Regions from separate parts of the Homo sapiens genome. Here all the other regions are linked to region 4. Evidence: promoter capture Hi-C in 16 types of primary human blood cells and fetal thymus (Javierre and others, 2016). All regions are on one chromosome and are shown on one strand. Each heading gives the region's core, a stretch centred on a gene start or on the middle of the fragment in contact. The rest is flanking DNA. Distances are from core to core; before and after follow the strand shown.

Region 1 (3,232 bases), core at 513-3,012, 440 kb after region 4:
CATGAGAAATAAACTCAAGTTAGTTAGCTTACTTAGAGTTACTTCCTAGTAAGAAGTGGGGCCAGAATTCGAACCTAGACCTGTATACAAAGGTAGTTCTTAACTTTTCTTAACTTTACCTTTCTCATCTATAAAATGAAGATGATACTTCTTCTCAGGTAATGTGGTAAGTTATGCGAGAGTACTTAGCACCATGTGTGGCTTGTTATAAACACTCAGCAAATGTTTCCCTCCTTCCAACATACTTAGGCTCCTGAATTCTGCTCCTTCATTTAGCTGTAACATCTTTAGCTTTTACAACTCCCATTCTCACCTTTTCTAAGTTATACATTGTGGCAACCAAGCATTTCTGACCTATTTGGAAAGGGATGTGAGTAACTTGGACATTAATGGTTTCCATCCATTAATGCCACACACAATGGATGTATGGCAGGTAAGTCCCATAGCCAGCCTCATCCAGCTGGTTGGGCATGTTAGCTCTGTCCCACCCTGGGCCAGGAAATCCAGAGCCACTGTTAGGCACAGGCTTATGGGCACTAAAAACAGAAAGGATTTGCTGACCCGTTCTATTACCCCAACAGGGGAAAAGGAGTGCCGCTGAAAGGTCAGCAACCCAATTATTGAAAGCTCACAGATCGCTAAGCTTCAAACACACATAGCAAGATAAAGCCTGTTTGCCTGAAATCTCAGGGTAGCCTCAGCCCCTACCCTTCTCCGCTTTATTTTCTAGAAGCACATCGAGCCTGGATTATGGCCAGTTACTTTAGGCTATCAGTCGCCTTTCACCTGTCTTGGCATTTTGGTGCTTAAAACAGGAAGCGAAGGAGGAAAGTGTTCTCTCTGTGGTCAGAATAGGTGCTGTTAAAGGCTCAGGAATAGGTCCAGATAGCTGAATCACTGCTGTAGCTGAGGGGCTGGGGCTGGAAGGTCCCCTGCAAGTCAGGAGATAGGCACTGCCAGGGAGGGTCTTACTAGCCTAGAGCAAGACATAGGTGCACATGTGCACGCATACATCCCAGCTACCCTACTAAGCCACTCTGAAGTGGGCCTGAGAAGCCGGCCCCAGGTTTTATTCAGAGGCTTTGGCAGTACAAACAGAGCATTGATTGCCCAAGTGTCAGATACCAGGCCCCAAGTAGCTGCTGAGTGGCTAAGGTGGGTGGGGGAGAGAGACTCCCAGGTTCTCCTTTGGCCCAGTAGGGGAAAACTGTCCTAATGTAGTCAGATGAGGGCACTGAGGCTAGGGCTTTTGGGAATGACAGGGCTAATAGACAAAGTTGAGAACACCCTGGGCCTAAGGGGATTGGGACACACCTCCAGGTCAGAAAGCCTTGGGGTAGATCAGGCTGAGAAAAGGAGAGAGAGGATATCCCCAGACCGAGAAACCAGATGGCAGCCCAGAGTGGAAGGCGGGGCTTTATGACAGCTGGAGCGGGCTCATACGCATGAGCACCACAAGGTGGCAGGGTTTGCCTGGCATCTGCTCTTCCAGAAGTAGGCTGTCTCTGGAAACCTTCACGAAACCTGGAAACCTTCTGGAAACCTGCCTGGCCTTAGGCTGCTGCCCTTGGAGAAGCTTCGTATCTCAGGCTGAGCAGAGTCCCCAGCACCCAGTCTCCTGGGGTTAAGCAGCAGCCAGAAGCTTGCTGGCAGCCAACCAGGACAGATGTGGGGCACTCATGGCCATCCACCCCCATGCATCAGCTCCAGGGAGTGTCACAGATGGACGCCATGCCCTTGGGAGGGGAGGGCACCCAGACTGCCATGTGTTAGGACCACTTCATGTAGCCTTGTGCTAGGCCTGCATGTCCACAACATAATCTGACTCACCTAAGAATTACGTTGGTCTTGTGTGGCATTTTTAGATCCATAGACAAGCTTGGAGAGGGGAGGAGACCCTGTGAAGGTCTCAGTCAATGCTTGGTAGAGCCAGGATTTGAACCCAGAGCTATGTGATTCTAAAGCCATCCATTGTCCCATGCTGCCTGGACCCCTGCCTTTGTATCATGGAATTCCTGAACTGGTCATGGAGGAGCAATCTACTGCAGGCTCATGGACCCCTTGGAAAGCCTGAACTGGGGTGATTTGTGAGAATATGAAGAGGATTGACATGGAGAACAGTGAGGCTGAAGGGATTGGAATTATTTGAACTTGGAGAAGGGAATGGTGAGAGTCATGGTTTTTGAGTGTGTATATTACTTACACAGAGGATGTCCATTAGTCATCTTGGTCTGAATTAGAGGAAGTAAGCAAGCGTTAAAATGCAACAGTAGGAATTTTGAGAAGTTACACATGGGAAGAGTTCCTTGACATTTAGGATTATTAAATATTAAAGTGAGTTTTTATTTGAAGATGCTACTTCTTAGTACAAAAATCAACAGTTAAAGCACAATTTGGGAAAGCTAATTGGTAACAGTGGGTAAGAATCTCCATGAGTATTAAAAATAAAACAAGAACAAATGCCATTAAAAATAAGGTCAGTTCTGAGTAGTCCAATAGATTAGTCTTTTTCAGTTTGTCAATCACCTCACCACATTTTCTACAAGACGGTAAATCTTGATGACAAGGAAAAACCTCAAATAAAGAGAATTCTTGAAACATCCCAGTTAACCCTTCAACAAATATTTGTGGAGGAGGTTGCTTTACAGCCAAGCACTGGGAATAAAATGGAGACCAAAATACTCTTGGCCAACATCCTCAGTTTAGTGCTGAGGGTGGTGGGGGAACCCTGCCTGTCAACAAGCCAAAGGGAGCTGTGCTGTGCACCAACCCTGTGAGGGCCTCAGAGCAGGCCTCAGAATAGAGGGGAGAGAGCCAGGGAATAGAAGAGAGTAGGAATCACGTGCACAAAGCCCAGAGAGGCCTGGAAGAAGCTCTGTGGGGCTGGAGGGCAGTGCATATGGGAATTATTTTACAGTGTTTTAGGTTCTTAACTGTCCAAGACAGCTTAAGAGTAGTTTTGTCTGAAGGCAAGAGAATGAGTTCCATGATGCCTTGTGCAGAATCACATCTAACCTGAGGGCTGGATTCTAAAGTCACTGTATAGGTCACAAATAATCTATGACTAAAGTTACCATGGAAATATCCTTTAGAAAGGTAACACATTGGTGACTGGCCAGGTCTCTCCGGGAATCTAACATGGCCAGTGTTTCTTCTAGAGGTGGAACCAATCATGATTTATTTGGAGGAGCACAAGATTAACCAGTTGGCTTGTGTTTCGGGGCCATGATGT
Region 2 (3,253 bases), core at 410-2,909, 350 kb before region 4:
AATAATTTAAATGCTAGTTTCAATCAAATCTTGTCTATAGAATGATTCAAGTTACAACTCATGCAACAAGTCATCTCAAAAAATAGCTATAAAGGCAATCTTGGATAATTTCAAAGAAAAAAAAATCAAAGAGCAACACTGCATCAATTCCTAGTTAGTATGTCAGATAACACACACTAAGATGCACCTTCCTTCAATAACTACAACATTAACACAAAGAAATTCCCTTAAAAACATAATACTCATCAATTGACAGAAAAAGGAAAAAAATCCCATGATACTCAATGTCTTTACTTGTTTGTACATATACCTTGAAGAGGGATTCTTTTCCAGGCAGGGACCTGGATAGGATGAGATCACTTATGGAAAAAGGAGCAGTATATCAGCTGAGAAAGAACATTAGGGAGAAGAAACAGCCTAACATATAAGGCAATTACTATCCCATTTTATAATCCTACACTTATAGTGAAAACAGAGGCCCTAATTTTTACTAATAATTTCAAAATATTTTGCCGCTTATAAACTTAATTTCTTTACGGAAAAATACAGAGAAGCATCAAAATGCAAAACTAATGTCTCAATCAGTAACTATAGTCTGGATATTATCATCAAATAGGATTGTTCTGAGGACCATAAAAGTATACTAATTGCTTTTATAAATACAGTTGTAAAAGCATTCTATTCTTAAACTATTTCAGGTTTAAACTTGGTCACAAATGCCCTCAAGTAGTCTATTTCTCTCATTCCCTCACCCCAATTTCTTTACATCTATAAATTATTATTAAATAAATCCTTGTCTCCTACAGTGAATGGGGAGTAGATGAAGAAGCAGCGTAATTTTTCTTTCTCACATGTCCTTTGAATGTGTCATCATGCCTGACATTTACTTTTAGCAGAACATGCTTCCTAATACTCACATCACCTTCTCTCAGGGTTTGAAGAAATTCTTGCAGTTTGTCTGCTGTTTTTTCTGCTGCTAGAGATAAAATCTTCTGGTCCATTGTTGCTCATATCACAGAACTACAAGGGAAAAACGTCAGAGGTGGGTGAAGATTCCAGAAATAAACAAACTTGATTTGTTTTCCTTCCCTGTTAACTGAATATTTCATACCTATTATGCAATGGGTGCTCAACAAACTTAGGACTATCTTTAAGTAGCTGATTCTTTTTTCTTCTTCTTCTTAAGCTCAGTGGCAAGATGATTCTTAACCTAACCAAAATAATCCTGAAAATTCCCTGGAATTGCCTTATTAGGAATCTGTATTCTAATCAAGTGGTTTCATAATTTTTGCCCACACTTGTTACCATCTACTCACCATACTACCTAGAACAAAGCTTCCATTTAACAGCATATCAAGTATGTAATACATTATATATTACCATAAGCATGTAATAAAGTATTTGACAAATAAATGAATAAACCAATAGCACTATAAATGCTATGTGCCAATTAAATGGTATAAAAACAAGTGAGAAGGGGAGCCCAAGAGTGTGAGGCTGCAGTGAGCTATGATCATGCCACAGTACTCCAGCCTAGGCAACAAGGTAAGACCCTGTCTCTTAAAAAAAAAAAAAAAAAGAGGCCGGCACCGTGGCTCATGCCTGTAATCCCAGCACTTTGGGAGGCTGAGGAGGGCAGATCACGAAGTCAGGAGATCGAGACCATTTTGGCTAACACGGTGAAACCCCCGTCTCTACCAAAAATACAAAAAAAAATTAGCTGGGCGTGGTGGCGGGCGCCTATAGTCCCAGCTACTCGGGAGGCTGAGGCAGGAGAATGGCGTGAACCCGGGAGGAGGAGCTTGCAGTGAGCGGAGATCACGCCACTGCACTCCAGCCTGGGCGACAGAGCGAGGCTCTGTCTCAAAAAAAAAAAAAAAAAAAAGAAAGGAAGAAAGAAAGAAAGAAAAGCTGAGAAGTTAACAAGGTAAAAGATGTAACTGTGTTCTTAAATGTCAAGGTTTCGCAGCAGAGGAAAGCTTGAACTGGAACTTAGAGATTAAATATAGGTAGTCCAGACAACCAGGTTGTATACATTATGGAGAAGGGTATCATGAACAAAGGCATTCATACGGGAAATGAGAAATTTCTTTGGGGGAAAATGAGTAAAATGGCTGAGGTAGAATCCAAGTAGGAAAATAGTGAGTAGGAAGTCTGGAAAGATAGGCTGGAAGTAAACAGGTTAAGGAATTTAGATTCTATTTCGTAAATTACTGAGAACCATTAAAAAATTTGAGCAAAAGACAATCTCACAAGATTGCAAGTGTTTGAGGAAACAGAACCTAGCATCTTTGTGCAGATTAAAGTGGGGAGAAGGTAAGAAGAAACAGCAAATGCTAAGAGACCATTTGGAAGTTATTTTAGTGGAAATGATAAAGACCTGTACTAGGGTGGTGACTGGAGAACAGAAAAGATGGGATGAAATGGAGGCACATGAAGCAGATAGAATTCAGTGAGTAGCTATGAAAATAGAAGGGGGAAGTACAGCCTAGTAGAAAGAAAATCTGTTCCTCCTCTTCTTCCTCCTGTGTTTCCCGTCTCCATAAATGGTACCATCATCCACTCAGCTGCTCAGACCAGAAACCTAGGTAACATTCTTAACAACTTTGCCTTCATCCTTCACCACATCCATTACCAAGTCCTGTCAATGTTACCTACTAAATATCTCCCAAATCTGTCTACTTTTCTCCATCTCCACTACTGACACATTACCCCAAGCCACCACCATCTCTCACCTGAACTACTGCAATCGTTTCCTAACTTGTTCCCTTCTACGCAGCAACTAAAGTGATGTTTTTGAAACACAAACCTGATTATGTGACTTATCTTCCCTCCATGCCATCCTCATCTTAAAGCTCTTCAGTGGCTTCCATTGCTTTATCAGTCCAAAACCCTTAAGTAAGGATAAAATAAGTCCTGCAAGTTCTGACCCATGCCTACCTCCCTTTCATCACTCTGCTCCAGCCATGCAGAATTGCTTCCAGTCCTTCAAATCTCCAAGTTCTTTCTGCCACAGGCCCTTCCACATGTTTCCATCTGGAACTTAAATAAATATTCCTGCTTCCATCCACTGCCCCCCAATCTTTTATTACTAATTCCTACAAATCCTTCAGATCTTAGCTCAATCCACATCTCCTCAAAAGCTCAGTCTAGGCCAGGCGCAGTAGCTCACGCCTGTAATCTCAGCACTTTGGGAGGCCAAGGCGGGCGGATCACTAGGTCAAGACATCCAGACCTTCCTGGCCAAGATGGT
Region 3 (3,252 bases), core at 471-2,970, 390 kb before region 4:
GAGACCCGAGACCGCACCACTGCATTCCAGTCTGGGCAACAGAGTGAGACTCCATCGGAAAGGAAAGGAAAACGGAAAAAGGGGAAAGGGGAAAGGAACGGAACAAAGGAAAATTAATCCTAACAGCAATTAAAATATTTTATGAATGTGTAATAATAATAAAAAGACACTTTGTCTTGGCACAAAAATCTACAGGCAAAATTTTAAAATGGCATACAGAGATACATAGTACACATTAAGGAGGCAATGATGTCTGAACAAATGGTTAGCTTGGGGGAAAAGCTCCTCATATATATTATCATACAAATTCAGGATGAATTAAGTAGCTAAACGTCAAAAACAAATGCATAAAAAAAAAAACCTCAAAGAAAATGTTAGTGAATATTCATTGGAAGGATTTGGACTTTCTACAGATAAAATAATAATAAAGATGGGCCGGGCACGGTAGCTCATGCTTTTAATCCCAGCACTTTGGAAGACTGAGGCAGGAGGATCGCTTGAAGCCAGGGCATTTGAGACCATCCTGGGCAACAAAGTGAGACCCTGTCTCTACAAAAGGTTAAAAAAAAAAACAAACAGAAAAATTAGCTGGGTGCAGTGGCTTGTGCCTATGGTCCCAATCGTTTGGGGATGGGGCTGAGGCAAGAGGATTATTTGAGCCTAGGAGCTGGAGGCTGCAGTGAGTTAGACTGCACTAGTGCACTCCAGCCTGGATAACAGAGGAAGACTCTGTCTCTTAAAAAAAAAAAAAAAGTAATAGAAGACATCTCAGAGGAAGAAAATCAATAGATTTAGTAACCAAAAATTATTATTTAAGTGTAAAAGGATCATATTAAAAAAAAAGCAAATGGCAATCTGGCATACACTTGCAACAAATATGACAAGTTTTATCACTACATAAGGTATTTTTATATACCAATGATATACTAAGACTGATGAATAAATGAACAGCAATATTCTAATAGGTTTAAGTCTATGATCCACTTCATGTTAATTTTTTTTACTTTAGAGCTAAATAAGGGTGAAGATTTTTTTTGGGGGGGAAGGGGCATATCAAGGACTGCACAAGAGTTAACACATGAAGTCTAAGACTGCCTATCCTTAGTGCACCTTTGCCAGCTGGTGGCTGAGAATTTAGCTGGTAAACAGTTACTTACACTGACACAAAGCTCACCCTAAAGAAGAGTGGCTCACTGTGCCTTAACTGTTTAAACAATGTGGTTTATACAGAATATGGGCGTACCTAATTTTATTGCAAGTTGCTTGATTGCACTTCGCAGATATTACGTTTACAAATTAAAGGTTTGTGGCAACCCTACATCAAGCAAGTCTCTCAGTACCATTTTTCCAAAAGCATGTGCTCACTGCATGTCTCTGTGTCACATTTTGGTAATTCTCATAATATTTCAAACTTTCTCTTTATTATTGTATGTGTTATGGGGATCTATGATAAATGATCTTTGACATTACTATTGCAATTGGTTTGAAGAGTCACGAATTGTGTCTATATAAGATAGTGAACTTAATTGATAAATGCTGTGTATGTTCTGACTGGTTCCACTGACTGGGCCATCATCCCATCTCTCCACCTCTCCTCAGGCCTCCCTATTCACTGAGACAAAACAATATTGAAATTAGGTCAATTAATAACCCCTACAATGACCTATAAGTATTCAAGTGAAAGGAAGAGTCGCACGTCTCTCACTTTAAATCAAAAGCTAGAAATGATCCAGTTTAGTAAGGCATGTTACAAGCTGAGGCAAGTCAAAAGCTAGGCTTCTTGCACCAAAGAGCCAAGTTGTGAATGCAAAGAAAATGCTCTTAAAGGAAATTTAAAGTGCTATTCCAGTGAACATATGAATGATTAGAAAGCAAAACAGCCTTATTGCTGATGTGAAGAAAGTTTTAGTGGTCTGGTAAAAGACCAAGCCAGCCACAACATTCCCTTAAGTCAAAGCCTAATCCAGAGCAAGGACCAAACTCTTCAATTCTATAAAGCCTGAAAGAGATGAGGAAGCTGCCAAAGAAAAGCTGAAGCGAGCAGAGGTTGGTTCATGAGGTTTAAGGAAAGAAGCCATCTCCATAACATAAAAGTGCAAGGGGCTGGGCGCAGTGGCTCACGCCTGTAATCCCAGCACTTTAGGAGGCCGAGGCGGGCAGATCACGAGGTCAAGAGATTGAGACCATCCTGGCCAACATGGTGAAACCCCAGTCTCTACTAAAAATACAAAAATTAGCTGGGTATGGTGGCGTGAGCCTATAGTCCCAGCTACTTGGGAGGCTGAGGCAGGAGAATCACTTGAACCTGGGTGGCGGAGGTTGCAGTGAGCCGAGATTGTGCCACTGCACTACAGCCTTGTGACAGAGTGAGACTCAAAAAAAAAAAAAAAAAAAAAGTGCAAGGTGAAGCAGCAAATGCTGATGGAGAAGCTGAGGCAAATTATCCAGAAGATATAGCTAACATAATTGATCGAGGTGGTTATATTAAACAACAGATTTTCAATGTAGATGAAATAGCCTTATATTGGAAGAAGACTTTATCTGGGACTTGCCTAGCTAGGGAGGAGAAGTCAATGCCTGGCTTCAAAGGACAGGCTGACTGTCTTGTTAGGGGTTAATGTAGCTGCTGACTTTAAGTTGAAATCAATGCTCATTTACTATTCCAAAAATCCTAGGGCCCTTAAGAATTATGCTACATCTACTCTGCCTGTGCTTTATAAATGGAAAAGCAAAGCCTGCATGATAACACATCTGTTTATAGCATGGTTTGCTGAATATTTTAAGCCCACTGTTGAGACCTACTGCTCAGAAAAAAAAAGATTCTTCTCAAAATATTACTGCTCATTGATAGTGCACCTAGGCATCTAAGAGCTCTGATGGAAATGTACAGAAAGATGAATGTTGTTTTCACATATGCTACCACAATATCCTCTGGGTGAGTTATATGCTAATCACAAGTCAGTAGTTGTATTTCTCTTAGCTGTACTGTCATAATAACTAGTGATTTAATCAGACGTTCAGTAAACTGTTGAAAACCCAGTGCAAAAAGAAAAAGAAGTTGCTTTTATAAAAACTAAGTTAGGCCAGGCATGGTGGCTCACGCCTGTAATCCCAATACTTTGGGATGCCGAGACAGGTGGATCACTTGAGGCCAGGAGTACAAGACCAGCCTGGCCAACATGGTGAAATCCCATCTCTACTAAAAATACAAAAATCAGCTGGGCATGGTGGTGCATGGCTGTAATCCCAGGT
Region 4 (2,940 bases), core at 168-2,667:
TTCAGATTCCACCTGCTGGCTACCCCTACCCCTGGCTGGCATGTTCAACTCGACTTAACTGTAGCAAAATGTGCTCTCCCTACTGTCCATCCTCTCCCCTGTCGGGAACCTGCAGAGGGACCTACCTTGGCTCCCCTTTGCCCATCAAGCCTGGCGTTCCTTTTAGGTGTAGTTTACCTGTTGATCACAGTTCTTTGTGCTCCAATGTGCCCCTGGCTGTGTGTAACACACACACATGCACACACACACACACACTCATGGGCCAACTTGAGCTGTGTTTAGGAAGAGGCTCTGAGCTCTGTGACCCTGTGACCCTTCGACCCTTCCCCCAGCCAAAGCTGAAGGACCTCCTTAGTCTTTTCTGCTGAGGAAACATCGGGCTGTCCAGGCCAGGGCCCCCATTGGTCTGGACAGGAAAGAAAACACCCTGTCCAAACAGAGGCATCCTGAGCGGCTGCCTGGATGGCTGTGCTGATTAGCAGGATTCCGAAGGGAGGCCCACCCCTGTTGGAGGACCACTCAGAAGCCTGATTGCCCCTGCAGGCTGCAGAGGTATCCCACCCTGTGTCTCCCCTCCCAGCCAGGGCCACTCATTCAAGCCCCATGTGCTGGGGATAGCACCTGCTATGTGCCTGACAGTGAGTTGGGAATCTGGCCAGTGTTTCATGATGGCCAAACTCAGGGGCATGAGGACATCAGCAACCCCTTGCTTTTTTTTTTTTTTTTTTTTTGAGACGGAGTTTTGCTCTTGTTGCCCAGGCTGGAGCACAATGGCATGATCTCAGCTCACTGCAACCTCCGCCTCCTGGGTTCAAGCAATTCTCCTGCCTCAGCCTCCCAAGTAGCTGGGATTACAGGCATGCTCCACCACGCCCAGCTAATTTTGTATTTTTAGTAGGGACAGGGTTTCACCATGTTGCCCAGGCTGGTCTTGAACTCCTGACCTCAGGTGATCCACCGGCCTCCACCTCCCAAAGTGCTGGGGTTACAAGCATGAGCCACTCACTGCACCTGGCCTCACCCCCTTGCTTTCTATTTGGAAAAGAAAGTAATACAGAAGTCTCACCCCTTCCACAATCAAAGGTGGGGAGCAGCCTTAGCCCCTAGCAGAATGCTGGACAGGGGCTTCCCCTGCTTACTCCCACTGTTTTTGGTATACCAGGCTTTCTAAGGGGATCCCCCCTCCCCAAACTCTCCTATTCCACCCCTACTCTCCTTTCCCAAGACGTGAGGGCCTCAACTCTTGCACACCCTCTTTGCGGTGGTTCCCAGCGAGTCTGGAGACCGCTCAAGCCTGCAGCAGCTCCTCCCTTCGAGCCCAGCCCTTGGGAGGGAAAGGTGCGCGTGTTCCTTTAAGGGGCTGGTCTGGCGGGAGCGCGGGGGTTTTTCTGCTGCCGCTTCCTTTCTGCCCTTTTAATTTCCCCGAAATCAGACTGCTGCCTTGGACCGGGACAGCTCGCGGCCCCCGAGAGCTCTAGCCGTCGAGGAGCTGCCTGGGGACGGTACGTGGCTTAGGGGTCGCTGGGCTTCTGGGGCTGTGTGCGGGCCGGGTTCCTCCCTTACCGCTTTGGGTGCCCTGCGGGTCCCCACACCTCCCGGGCAGGGTCCGGGGAAGGGGCAGGAGGCGTGGGCCGGGCACTGCGGAGGCCCGGGCTGAGATGGGCTGTGATCGCGGGCGAGGGGCGCCCGGGGCACAAGTGGGGAGGGAGCGGCGCGGGGATGCGGGCGCCGGACCCTCGTGCCCACCGTGAGGGAGCAGAGCCCGAGCGGACCCCGTGGCCTCCGAGACCACCGTCCGCCTCCAGCCCCCTTCCTGCCAGGGTCCGCTTGGCTCTCTCCCCTGTCGTCTGTCCAGGGTCGGCTGCCTCCAGTGCCGTCCGCGGCGCCCCAGGCCCTGCCCCTGGGTATCTGTTGGATGCTCCGGGGGCCCCGGGAGTCCTGGGAGGGGCTGAGGGCAACCTGCGAGGCGGCTGGCGGACCTGCGCCTCTGGACCGCAGCTGGCCGGCTCTGGGCGCCTGGGGCAAAGGCAACTGATGCCTATGGGTTCCAGACCTCGCTCACCGGGGTTCTTGCCCCAGGGACAGCGAGGCCAGAAGGGTAGGGAGGGTGGAGGGCAGAGCCCTGGGTGGGAGATGGCGACCCTCAGGGAGAAACGTAGGCTTGTGCGCAGCCAGTATGGAAACAGCACGGCACTTGGACCCAGTCCTGCCACCAGCTCGTTGGCAGCCACAGGCCACAGGCAGCCTGTAAACCTGTTGGGACCTTGGTGTCCAGCGCTGACCCGCGGGAGTGCCTGTGCTCCCTGGAGTAGGGGGCAGCGATTGAGAGGGGCCCTGGCTTCTCTCCCTCGACGCCGCCCGGGCCAGCGGATTGGGAAACACCTCCGGTTTTCATTCTCCTGGGGGCTGCAGGTTTCAAAGGCGGAGATCAAGCCTTGTGCAAACAGGGACAGGGATGTCAAATTTCTCGCTGGGAGCAGCGCTCGTGCAGACCTCGCGGGCGATGCTGCCTCCTGCTGGTACCTGGGGGACTTGTACTCACGGAAGGCCCAGTGCGGACATGCACCTGGCAGGGAGGTGGCACCTACCCTCCCTCCAAGCCCAGGCTTATTGTTCTTGGGTGGAGGGGTCCCTAGGCTGGGGCGCCTGGGAAAAGCAAAGGGCTGGTCATCAGGAAACCTGAACTTTCTCTAAGTTCGAGATATTTGACAAAGATAACGCCTTGGGTAGTTCACTGACCTCCACTCTCTTGGCCTCAGTTTCCTCAACTGTGAAGAGGAGGCAGTGGTGACCACTTTGTCTCGTAGGCAGTGAGAGAGGAGAAAGAGCCACTGAGATGGTGTAAGACTTCACTGTGTGAACTGCTCACCAGAGTAGTAACAGGTCATATTTTCCCAGTGCTTGCTCCTTATCAAGCATCAAGCAGTATTTTCAGTGCTC
Region 5 (3,072 bases), core at 192-2,691, 420 kb after region 4:
TTGGGCATTTACAGCATTTTGATTTCTGATGATAGTACATGCAATCAATATTTTGGGGTGCCTTCCCTTGTTTGAAGGTCAAGGTTTTCCTTCAGGAAATACATCTGGTTTGGCAGAGTCTGAACATTTGTAAGGCCTGTACTATAGTAGAAATTGTGCAGGCTTTGGTCCCAGACCAATCTGGGTTCCGATCAGTGAACTGAATCGGTGCATGGCTCTGGGCAAGTCACACACTCTGAATCTCAATTGGCTTATGAAAATGTGGATAATACTGAGGGTCTCTGAAGATTCAAGATAATGAATGTAAAGTGTCTGGCACATGTAGATGCTCAATAACTATACCAATAGCAGCACCTTGCCAATTTGCTTCTAAAAAAGGTCTACGACAGTTCACACTGGAACTGGTATTGCTATTGCATGAGTCCCCACGATACTATGTCCTCTCCAAATAGACTATCATATCTCTCCCAACCCCAAACCACTGGTCTTTATTTTTATTTTTTTTCTTGAGATGGAGTCTCGCTCTGTCACCAGGCTGGAGTGCAGTGGTGTGATCTCGAGTCACTGCAACCTCCACCTCCTGGGTTCAAGTGATTCTCCTGCCTCAGCCTCCCGAGTACCTGGGACTACAGGCGCGCACCACCACGCCCAGCTAATTTTTCTATTTTTAGTAGAGATGGGGTTTCACCATGTTGGCCAGGATGGTCTCGATCTCTTACGCCTGCCTTGGCCTCCCAAAGTGCTGGGATTACAACTGTGAGCCATCGCGCCTGGCCTATTTTTAATTTATTTTGGAGACAGGGTCTCTCTCTGTTGCCCAGGCTTTAGTGCAGTGGTGAGATCATAGTTCACTGCAGCCTCAAACTCTTGGGCTCAAGCCATCCAGCCTCAGCCTCCCAAGTAGCTGGAACTACAGGCAGGTGCCACCAGACCTGGCTAACGGTTTTTAAATTGAGGGGTCTTTGGTTCTCAAGCCTTTGGTATCTTGGCTCTTACATCCTAGAATGAACCAACAAGGGCTTCACCTCTAATGAAGCTGAGAGAAAGAAAAAAGAGGAGCCTTTCACTAAACCTTTTCAAACCAATGCTCCAATCAGGGCATCAAAGCTGCCATGACAAACCCTTGCTTCTGAATGGGTAGTATAATGAGGATTCTCCACTCAGTGATGAGCCATGCAGAAAGCAAACACACACTAGAAGGAAGCAGAAGGAACACACACTTACCGCCGCTGCGGCTATGCCTGCTGTCTGTGCTGCGATGCCTGTGCCCTTCTTGGCATTCCGAAATCCCTCTGTGCCACAGGAAGCAAAGGCAAGGGGCTCATTACTAGCAGAGACTACCTGGATCTGTGTGCTGAGAAAAGTAGAAGAAGCACATAGGATACAACTCTTCTTCAGGGAAATAAGAGAGAGCTAATCTATGCCCCTAGAAGCCTGGGTGAGAAAGAAAAAGGAATTCAGTTGCTTCTACTTTGAGCTTCTCAGATGAACATGTTTTGAACTCCTACAGGAAGTATCAGGAAAGGTCAGAATTCTCCCCTAAACCTGACTGAAAACTGGTAAGTCACATAATTTAAAGAGCGCTCCATAATCTGAGAGTAGTTAGTTAAGTATCACCCAGAAAATGACTGTATTGGGGAAAGTTTTAAATATACACAAAAGTGAAGAGAATAACATAAGAAATCTGATGGACTCATCAACCAGCTTCAACAATTATCAACTCATATCCAATTCAGTTTCATCTATAAACCTTGTTCCCACCCCACTCCCCTCACCAATGGATTATTTTGAAGCAAATCCCAGACCTATCATTTTGTCTGTAAATATTTCAGTACATAGCTCTAAAAGAAGGACTCTTAAAAAAATATTAGCAATATTACCATATTGGCTACTTTTTTTTTTTTGAGATGGAGTTTTGCTCTTGTTGCCCAGGCTGGAGTGCAATGGCACGATCTTGGCTCACAGTAACCTCCGCCTCCCGGGTTCAAGTGATTCTTCTGCCTCAGCCTTCAGAGTAGCTGGGATTACAGGCGTGCACCACCATGCCTGGCTAATTTTGTATTTTTAGTAAAGACGGGGTTTCTCCATGTTGGGCAGGCCGGTCTTGAACTCCCGACCTCAGGTGATCTGCCCGCCTTGGCCTCCCAAAGTGTTGGGATTACAGGCATGAGCCACCTCGCCCGGCCTCATATTGGATACTTTTGATGCTTATGACACTATATTCCATGATCAAAAATTATTTTAAACAAGTAAAACTTTTCTCTTTTTTTCTTTTTTATTTTTTTGTGAGACAGGGTCTCACTCTGTTGCCCAGGCTGGAAGTGCAGTGGCACAATCATAGCTCACTGCAGCCTCCAACTCCTGGGCTCAAGCCATCCTCCCACCTCAGCCTCCCAAGTAGCTGGGACTACAGGTGCATGCCACCACGCCTGGCTAATTTTTGTATTTCTTTAGAGACTGGGTCTCACTATGTTGCCCAGGCTGGTCTTAAATTCCTGGCCTCAAGTGATCCTCCCAAAGTGCTGGGATTATAGGTGTGAGCCACTGCATCCACCCACAACTTTTTCTTAATCATCTCTAATAAGTTACTTATTAATACAATTAAGAATGCCTTAAGAAATCCTCAGATATGCTTTGATTTCCCCTTTAGTCATCATCATCCTATTTCTGGTCTGGAGAGCTCTGAGAGCTCACAGAAGGAGGCAGGAGAAGTGACTGAAGGGGAGGCCTGCTGGAGTCAGCCCCGGGCTTGGGCCATCCACTTGTTATCCTGGCTATGGCTCTGACATTCCCCCTACCAGAGCTTCTAGGGTTTTCCATATTGAATAGATGCGTAATTGCTTGTCTCTGTGACAGCCTAAACAGTGCTGTATAGAGTAGACCATAGACACTTAAATGCAGTTAGCCTATGTCCTTATTAGTCTGAGGGGAAGAAAAAGAAATCCAATTGCTGTCACTTTACATTTATCTGACAAATGCTGAAATGAATCCTATAGCATTTCATCTGTGCCACACACTTTAGCCCATGACTGTAGTCTCTTGTGCTGGTCTCTAAATTGCTGGGTGGGTTGG
Region 6 (3,099 bases), core at 564-3,063, 320 kb before region 4:
GAGATGCCTTCTGTTTTCTTCAAGCCTACTTTTGAGTTTTCAGGAGTGTTTTAAAGATTTCTTCATAAGCTATGACTGTGCTACTGCACTTCATCTGGGGGGACAGAGAGAGACTCTGCTTCTGAAAAATAAAAAGGTTTTAAAAATTTTTTCCTCACAACGTTGTGCACATTTTTCATTAAATTTGTCTTAGGTATTAATTTTGTTGTCATTGCTAAAAATGGGGCTCTTTCTTCCATTATATCTTCTAGTTGGTTATTGTTTGTATAAATGAAGGTTATTGTTTTTGTTTTTTAATTGTATATCCCCCTATTTTACTGAACTCTTTTAAAATTTATGTTAGTTTTATAATGGATTCTCTGGGGTTTTCTAAGTATACTATAATACTATCTGTAAGTAGAGGAGATAGTTTTTCTTCTCCCTTTCCACTTCTTATGCCCCTGATTTTTTTTTTTTTAACAAATTGATTGCATTGGTTAGTACTTTCAATATAGAATTAAATGGTGGCAGAGATGGTGAAGTCTTTATCTAATTCCTGATCTTAGTAAGGATGCCTCTAGGGTTTTCCCATCAAATAAGACACTGGCTGTAGGACTGAAATGCACACCTGCCTATCTGTGTGTATTAAGGAAGAGACTTAAATATATGTTTTTTCTTATTACGTAAGTGATATCTACTCATTTTAGAAAATACAAAAAATTGGCTGGGCGCAGTGGCTCATGCCTGTAATCCCAGCACTTTGGGAGGCCAAGGTGGGTGGATTGCCTGAAGTCAGGAGTTCGAGTCCAGCCTGGCCAACATGGTGAAACCCTGTCTGTCTCTACTAAAAATACAAAAATTAGCCAGGCATGGTGGCAGGCACCTGTAATCCCAGCTACTTGGGAGACTGAGGCAGGGGAATCGCTTGAACCTGTGAGGCAGAGGTTGCAGTGAGCCAAGATCGCACCACTGCACTCCAGCCTGGGTGACAGAGCAAGACTCCATCTCAAAAAAAAAATTACAGACAAATTTAAAATCATTTGCAATTCTACTACCTAGAGAGCTCTACTATTGACATCCTTCCAATCTTTTCATACATGTATGCACGCACATACACACACACACACACGCGCACACACACACACATTTTTCTTTTTTTTTTTTTTTTTGAGACACAGTTTTGCTCTTGTCGCCTAGGTTGGAGAGCAGTGGCGTGATCTCGGCTCACTGCAACCTCTGCCTCTCAAGTTCAAGTGATTCTCCTGCCTCAGCCTCCCAAAGTAGCTGGGATTACAGGTGCCTGCCACCATGCTCAGCTGATTTTTTTGTATTTTTAGTTGAGATGGGGTTTCACCATGTTGGCCAGGCTGGTCTTGAATTCTTGACCTCAGGTGATCCACCTGCCTCGGCCTCCCAAAGTGCTGGGATTATAGGCGTGAGCCACCGCACCCAGCCCACACATTTTTCTTACAATAATGGGATTATATTCTACAATAATATATCATGCACATTTTCCTGTATTATTAGTCTTCTGTATTGTTTTTAATTGTTCCAGAGTATTCCATGGCATAAATGTACCATAATTTCACCAGTTCCCATTGTTGGACATTTAGGTTGTCTCCAATGTTCCCACTATTGCAAGAGTACTGGGATAAACCTTCTGGCCTCTAAGCATGGATGTGACATTTGAACTTGTTTTCTTGGTATACATTCACAGAAGTGGAATGTCCGAGATCAAAGCCTGCAGCAAATTACCCCAGTGAAGAATGTACCAATTAGCTCTCCCCTCAGGACCTCAAGCCTTAATTATTGTTGCGGGTTAGATCTTACAGCCTGTTCTCTCTGTGCCCAAGATCTTGCAGGCATATTGCTTCATCCTGGAGAAGCTGCTGGAGAATGAGGAAACTCAAATCAATGGCTTCTGCATCATTGAGAACTTCAAGGGCTTTACCATGCAGCAGGCTGCTAGTCTCCGGACTTCAGATCTCAGGAAGATGGTGGACATGCTCCAGGTGAGGCTTAGAGTTCTGTCGCACGGCAGCCTCCCACAGCTGGGGAGGCTGAGAGGCTGGGCCTCCTTTCATGGTGCTTGCAGGGAACTGAGAAGTTGGACCACCTCGCGCCATAAAGAGCAGTGACAGCCACAGTCCCAACCATAAGCACCTGCATAGTGATTGACAGTTTGCCAAGTATTCCCTTTCATTCTTCCATCGACTCCTTGAGAGCATTCTCTCCCTCCTTCCCTGCTTCATTTTTCAAACCTGGAAACGAAGGCTCAGAGATTTAAGAGACATCTCGAGGTCACACAGCAATAAAGCGGCAGAGGCCAGACTTGAACCTGCATCTTCTGACCTGGAATCCCATGTTGTCTGTCCACATATGTCGCACTGCCTCTCTTTGAATGTGGATTCACCCCGAGAAAGGGATTATCACTAACCCTCTGATAACTCACTCCTATATGTGCTGACATGTCAGGAGTCCTTTCTTAGAGCCATCTTAGATCTGCTCTGTGTATTGGGAAAGGAGGGGTGGGAGGTGGAGGTTGTGGGAGGGGCTGATGGACAATGAGGGATGATAATACTGTTCCTGTCGTTTGTAATAGTTTGCAGTCCCTTCGGCAGGCAAGTGGGTTTGAAAAAACTCACCAAAAGGTCAAGCAAGGCTACTTTCATTTCTTTTCCTAATTCCCAGTTTAATTTGCATCAGCAGGGAGAGGGTTGGGTCTTATGAATCTTGGGGCTTCCTCCGTGCAGTCTGGGCCACAGTGAGCCAGGGATCCCTAGTTGCTGGCCTGGAAATAGGACCTTCAGTGGGCCCTTCTCCAGGGCAGCCCTGTGATGCTGGACAAGTCTGTTCTATGCCATGAGGAGAGGCAGCAGGGAATGAGTGGGAGCCTCTGAGGTCACTGGGGCCATGGGGAACGGGGTATCTCTCTGTCACCGCAGGATTCCTTCCCAGCCCGGTTCAAAGCCATCCACTTCATCCACCAGCCATGGTACTTCACCACGACCTACAATGTGGTCAAGCCCTTCTTGAAGAGCAAGCTGCTTGAGAGGGTGAGTACGTGGGCCGCCCAGACAATGAGACAAGAGGGCTGAGGGTGGGGCCTCACCTGAGCCC
Region 7 (2,936 bases), core at 437-2,936, 360 kb after region 4:
ATGGCCTGTGATTTAACTTTGATTTGAATCAAGGTATAATAAAACAATTAGAAGACTTTGCCATATAATAGATGCCCCATAAATATTAAAACATATTTTTATTGTGATTTTAAAATAGCCTAACATTTACCGTCTTAACTGATTGTAAGTGTACAGTTCAGTAGTATTAAGTATATTCACATTGTGAAATTGATCTCGAGAAGTTTTTCATCTTGAAAATCTGAAAAGTCTAACCCATTCAACAGCACCTTCTCTTTCCCCTCCTGCTAGTCCCTGGTGACCACCATTCTTCTTTGTTTCTGTGAATTTGATTCCTTTTTCTTTTTTTAATGATAAGTATTTTACATTAATTTTTTTTTTTTTTTTTTTTTTTTAGAGATTGGGTCTTGCTCTGTTGCCCAAGCTAGACTCAAACTCCTGGGCTCAAGTGGTCCACCTCAGCCTCCCAAGTAGCTGGGATTACAGGTGTGTGCTATGGCACCTGGCTGTTAAATTTGATTACGTTTGATACTTCATTTAAGTGGAATCATACAGTATTTGTCTGTTTGTGATTGGCTTATTTGACTTCACATAATGTCCTCAAGTTTCAGTGATGTAGCATATGTCAGAATTTTCTTCCTTTTGAAGGCCGAGTAATATTCCTTTGTGTGTATATACCATATTTTGTTTATCCACTCATCCATCAGTGAACTTTTGGGTTGCTTCCATCTCTTGACTACTATGAATAGCGCTGATATGAACATGGGTGTGCAAATATCTCTTAGAAATCCTGCTTTCAGTTATTTTGGATTTATACCCAGAAGTAGAATTGTTGGATCTTATGGTAGTTCTAATTTTCTTCAAGGAACCTTCATACTGTTTTCCTTAGTAGCTGTACTATTTTTCAGTTCCACCAACAATGCACAAGGGTTCAACTTCCTCTATGTCCTCAATGAAACTTGTCATTTTCTTTTTTTAAAAAAAGCAGTCGTTCTAATGGGTGTGAGGTGATATCCCATTGTAGTTTTGATTTACATTTCTCTGATGATTAGTGATGTTGAGCATCTATCTTTTCATATGCTTTGTGGCCATTTGTATAGGAGAAATGTCTGTTCCAGTACTTTGACCATTTTAAAATTGGGTATATGATTTTTTGTTATTGAGTTATAGGAGTTCTTTATATGTTCTAGATATTAACCCTTTATCCAATATATGATTTGCAAATATTTTCTTCCATTCTGTAGAAAGCCCTTTCACTCGGTTGATTGTGTCCTTTGATCACAGAAGTTTTAAGTTTGATGTATTCCCATTTGTCTATTTTTGTCTTGGTCGCCTATGCCTTTTGTGTCTTATCCAAGAAATCACTGCCAGATCTGATGTCATGAAGCTTTCCTCCTGTATTTTCTTCTAGTAGTTTTATAGTTATGGGTCTTATATTTAGATTCTTTTCCTATTTTGGGTTAATTTTTGTATAGGGTGTAAGATAGGGTCTGACTTCATTCTTTTGCATGTGGCTATTCAGTTTTCCCAACACCATTTGTTGAAGTGACTGTCCTTTTTCTATTGAGTAGTAGTAGGACCTTATCAAAGATTGTTTAACCATATATGCCAGAGTTTATCTGTGGGCCATTTCATTGGTCTGTGTCTGTCTTTATCCAGTACCACAATTTTTTGATTACTGTGGTTTGTAATATATTTTGAAATCAAGAGGCTTGAATCCTCTTTGTTCTTTTTCAAAATTATTTTGTGTATTTGGAGGCCCTTGAGATACCATATGAATTTTAGGATGAATTTTTTATCTTTGTGAAAAGTGCTATTAGGATTTTGATAGGGTTTGTATTGAATCTGTAGATTATTTTGGGTAATATGGATATCTTAACAGCCCAATAAATATTTTTTGCTGGAATGAATGCACATTGAATATGATTTTTTTGTTTGTTTGTTTGAGATAGAGTCTCACTCTGTTGCCCAGGCTGGAGTGCAGTGTTGTGACCACGGCTTATTGCAGCTTCGATGATCCAAGCTTAAACAATCCTTCCACTTCAGCCTCTCAAGTAGCTGGAACTACAGTCATGTGCCACCATGCCTAGCTAATTTTTATATTTTTTTGTAGAGACAGGGTTTTGCCATGTTTTCCAGGCTGGGCTTGAACTAGTGAGCTCAGGTGATCCACTTGCTTCGGCCTCCCAAAGTGTTGGGATTACAGGTGTGAGCCACTGCGCCCAGCCGAATGTGTCTTATACTGTTCAAATTTGTAGTTGTAGGTTTTTTTCTGTTGAACTTTCCCAACAGCTGAGCATACTTGGAAGGTATTCCTAGTGAACTAGATCCTTCCCTTAGACCTGTTTCTAGACTTAGAAATGTTAGGACCACTTACTCAGTATAATCTGGGAAGTAGTAATGCCAGTCACTGTCATCTTGGGAGCTCCTAGGTTCAGGATATAAGAAGAGAAATCTGTTTCACTTGTATATATTTATATTTTGGTAAATTCTGTTTCACTTTCTTGACTTCTGCTTTACTTTTCTGTTTAGAGATGTGATAATGGATCATCATGTTTCTACCATCAAGCCTCGAAGAATCCAAAACCAAAATGTCATTCACCGCTTGGAACGCCGGCGGATCAGTTCAGGCAAGGCAGGTACCCACTGGCACCAAGTCCGAGTGTTCCATCAGAATGTCTTCCCCAACTTCACAGTTGTCAACGTTGAAAAGCCTCCTTGTTTCTTGCGTAAATTCTCACCTGATGGACGCTACTTTATTGCTTTTTCTTCAGACCAGACATCTCTTGAAATCTATGAGTACCAGGGCTGCCAGGCAGCAGAGGACCTACTGCAGGGATACGAAGGAGAAATCCTGTCCAATGGCAATGACCAGCGGTCAGTGAATATCCGGGGCCGGCTCTTTGAACGCTTTTTTGTCCTGCTGCACATTACCAATGTTGCGGCCAATGGTGAGC

The links. Contacts are between HindIII fragments. The CHiCAGO score rates a contact against its expected background, and 5 or more counts as called.
Region 1: a fragment that was not itself captured here is called in contact with the fragment with the promoter of HAPLN3 in region 4 in 2 of 17 cell types (total B cells and naive B cells); the score reaches 6.3 in total B cells.
Region 2: a fragment that was not itself captured here is called in contact with the fragment with the promoter of HAPLN3 in region 4 in 2 of 17 cell types (naive CD4 T cells and naive CD8 T cells); the score reaches 5.8 in naive CD4 T cells.
Region 3: a fragment that was not itself captured here is called in contact with the fragment with the promoter of HAPLN3 in region 4 in 1 of 17 cell types (naive CD8 T cells); the score reaches 5.0 in naive CD8 T cells.
Region 5: a fragment that was not itself captured here is called in contact with the fragment with the promoter of HAPLN3 in region 4 in 3 of 17 cell types (naive CD8 T cells, total CD4 T cells and non-activated CD4 T cells); the score reaches 9.2 in naive CD8 T cells.
Region 6: a contact is called between a fragment that was not itself captured here and the fragment with the promoter of HAPLN3 in region 4, in 1 of 17 cell types (naive CD8 T cells). The highest score is 5.6, in naive CD8 T cells.
Region 7: a contact is called between a fragment that was not itself captured here and the fragment with the promoter of HAPLN3 in region 4, in 1 of 17 cell types (naive CD8 T cells). The highest score is 7.4, in naive CD8 T cells.

The regions. Positions count from the first base shown.
Region 1 is chr15:88,453,410-88,456,641 of GRCh38, reverse strand. No RefSeq gene overlaps it. Among named protein-coding and RNA genes, the nearest start is that of MRPL46, 12 kb to the left of the region's middle. The HindIII fragment of the contact is 236 bases long and covers 1,645-1,880 here.
Region 2 is chr15:89,245,396-89,248,648 of GRCh38, reverse strand. It overlaps FANCI (FA complementation group I), which reads right to left. Exons shown (of 38, transcript NM_001113378.2): 2 at 918-1,020. The coding sequence starts at 1,001. Among named protein-coding and RNA genes, the nearest start is that of FANCI, 3.0 kb to the right of the region's middle. The HindIII fragment of the contact is 644 bases long and covers 1,338-1,981 here.
Region 3 is chr15:89,286,122-89,289,373 of GRCh38, reverse strand. The region is part of intron 18 of FANCI (FA complementation group I); the gene reads right to left. Among named protein-coding and RNA genes, the nearest start is that of MIR6766, 39 kb to the left of the region's middle. The HindIII fragment of the contact is 6,511 bases long and covers 1-3,252 here.
Region 4 is chr15:88,894,021-88,896,960 of GRCh38, reverse strand. It overlaps HAPLN3 (hyaluronan and proteoglycan link protein 3), which reads left to right and starts at 1,417. Exons shown (of 5, transcript NM_178232.4): 1 at 1,417-1,502. RefSeq lists an enhancer at 1,580-2,191. The HindIII fragment of the contact is 19,838 bases long and covers 1-2,940 here.
Region 5 is chr15:88,473,392-88,476,463 of GRCh38, reverse strand. MRPS11 (mitochondrial ribosomal protein S11) reads right to left here. Exons shown (of 6, transcript NM_022839.5): 4 at 1,225-1,354. Among named protein-coding and RNA genes, the nearest start is that of MRPS11, 7.2 kb to the right of the region's middle. The HindIII fragment of the contact is 6,293 bases long and covers 1-3,072 here.
Region 6 is chr15:89,210,635-89,213,733 of GRCh38, reverse strand. It overlaps RLBP1 (retinaldehyde binding protein 1), which reads left to right. Exons shown (of 9, transcript NM_000326.5): 7 at 1,833-1,991; 8 at 2,925-3,035. Among named protein-coding and RNA genes, the nearest start is that of RLBP1, 9.4 kb to the left of the region's middle. The HindIII fragment of the contact is 3,749 bases long and covers 1-3,099 here.
Region 7 is chr15:88,531,291-88,534,226 of GRCh38, reverse strand. DET1 (DET1 partner of COP1 E3 ubiquitin ligase) reads left to right here. Exons shown (of 5, transcript NM_001144074.3): 2 at 2,512-2,936. The coding sequence starts at 2,522. Among named protein-coding and RNA genes, the nearest start is that of DET1, 14 kb to the left of the region's middle. The HindIII fragment of the contact is 636 bases long and covers 1,369-2,004 here.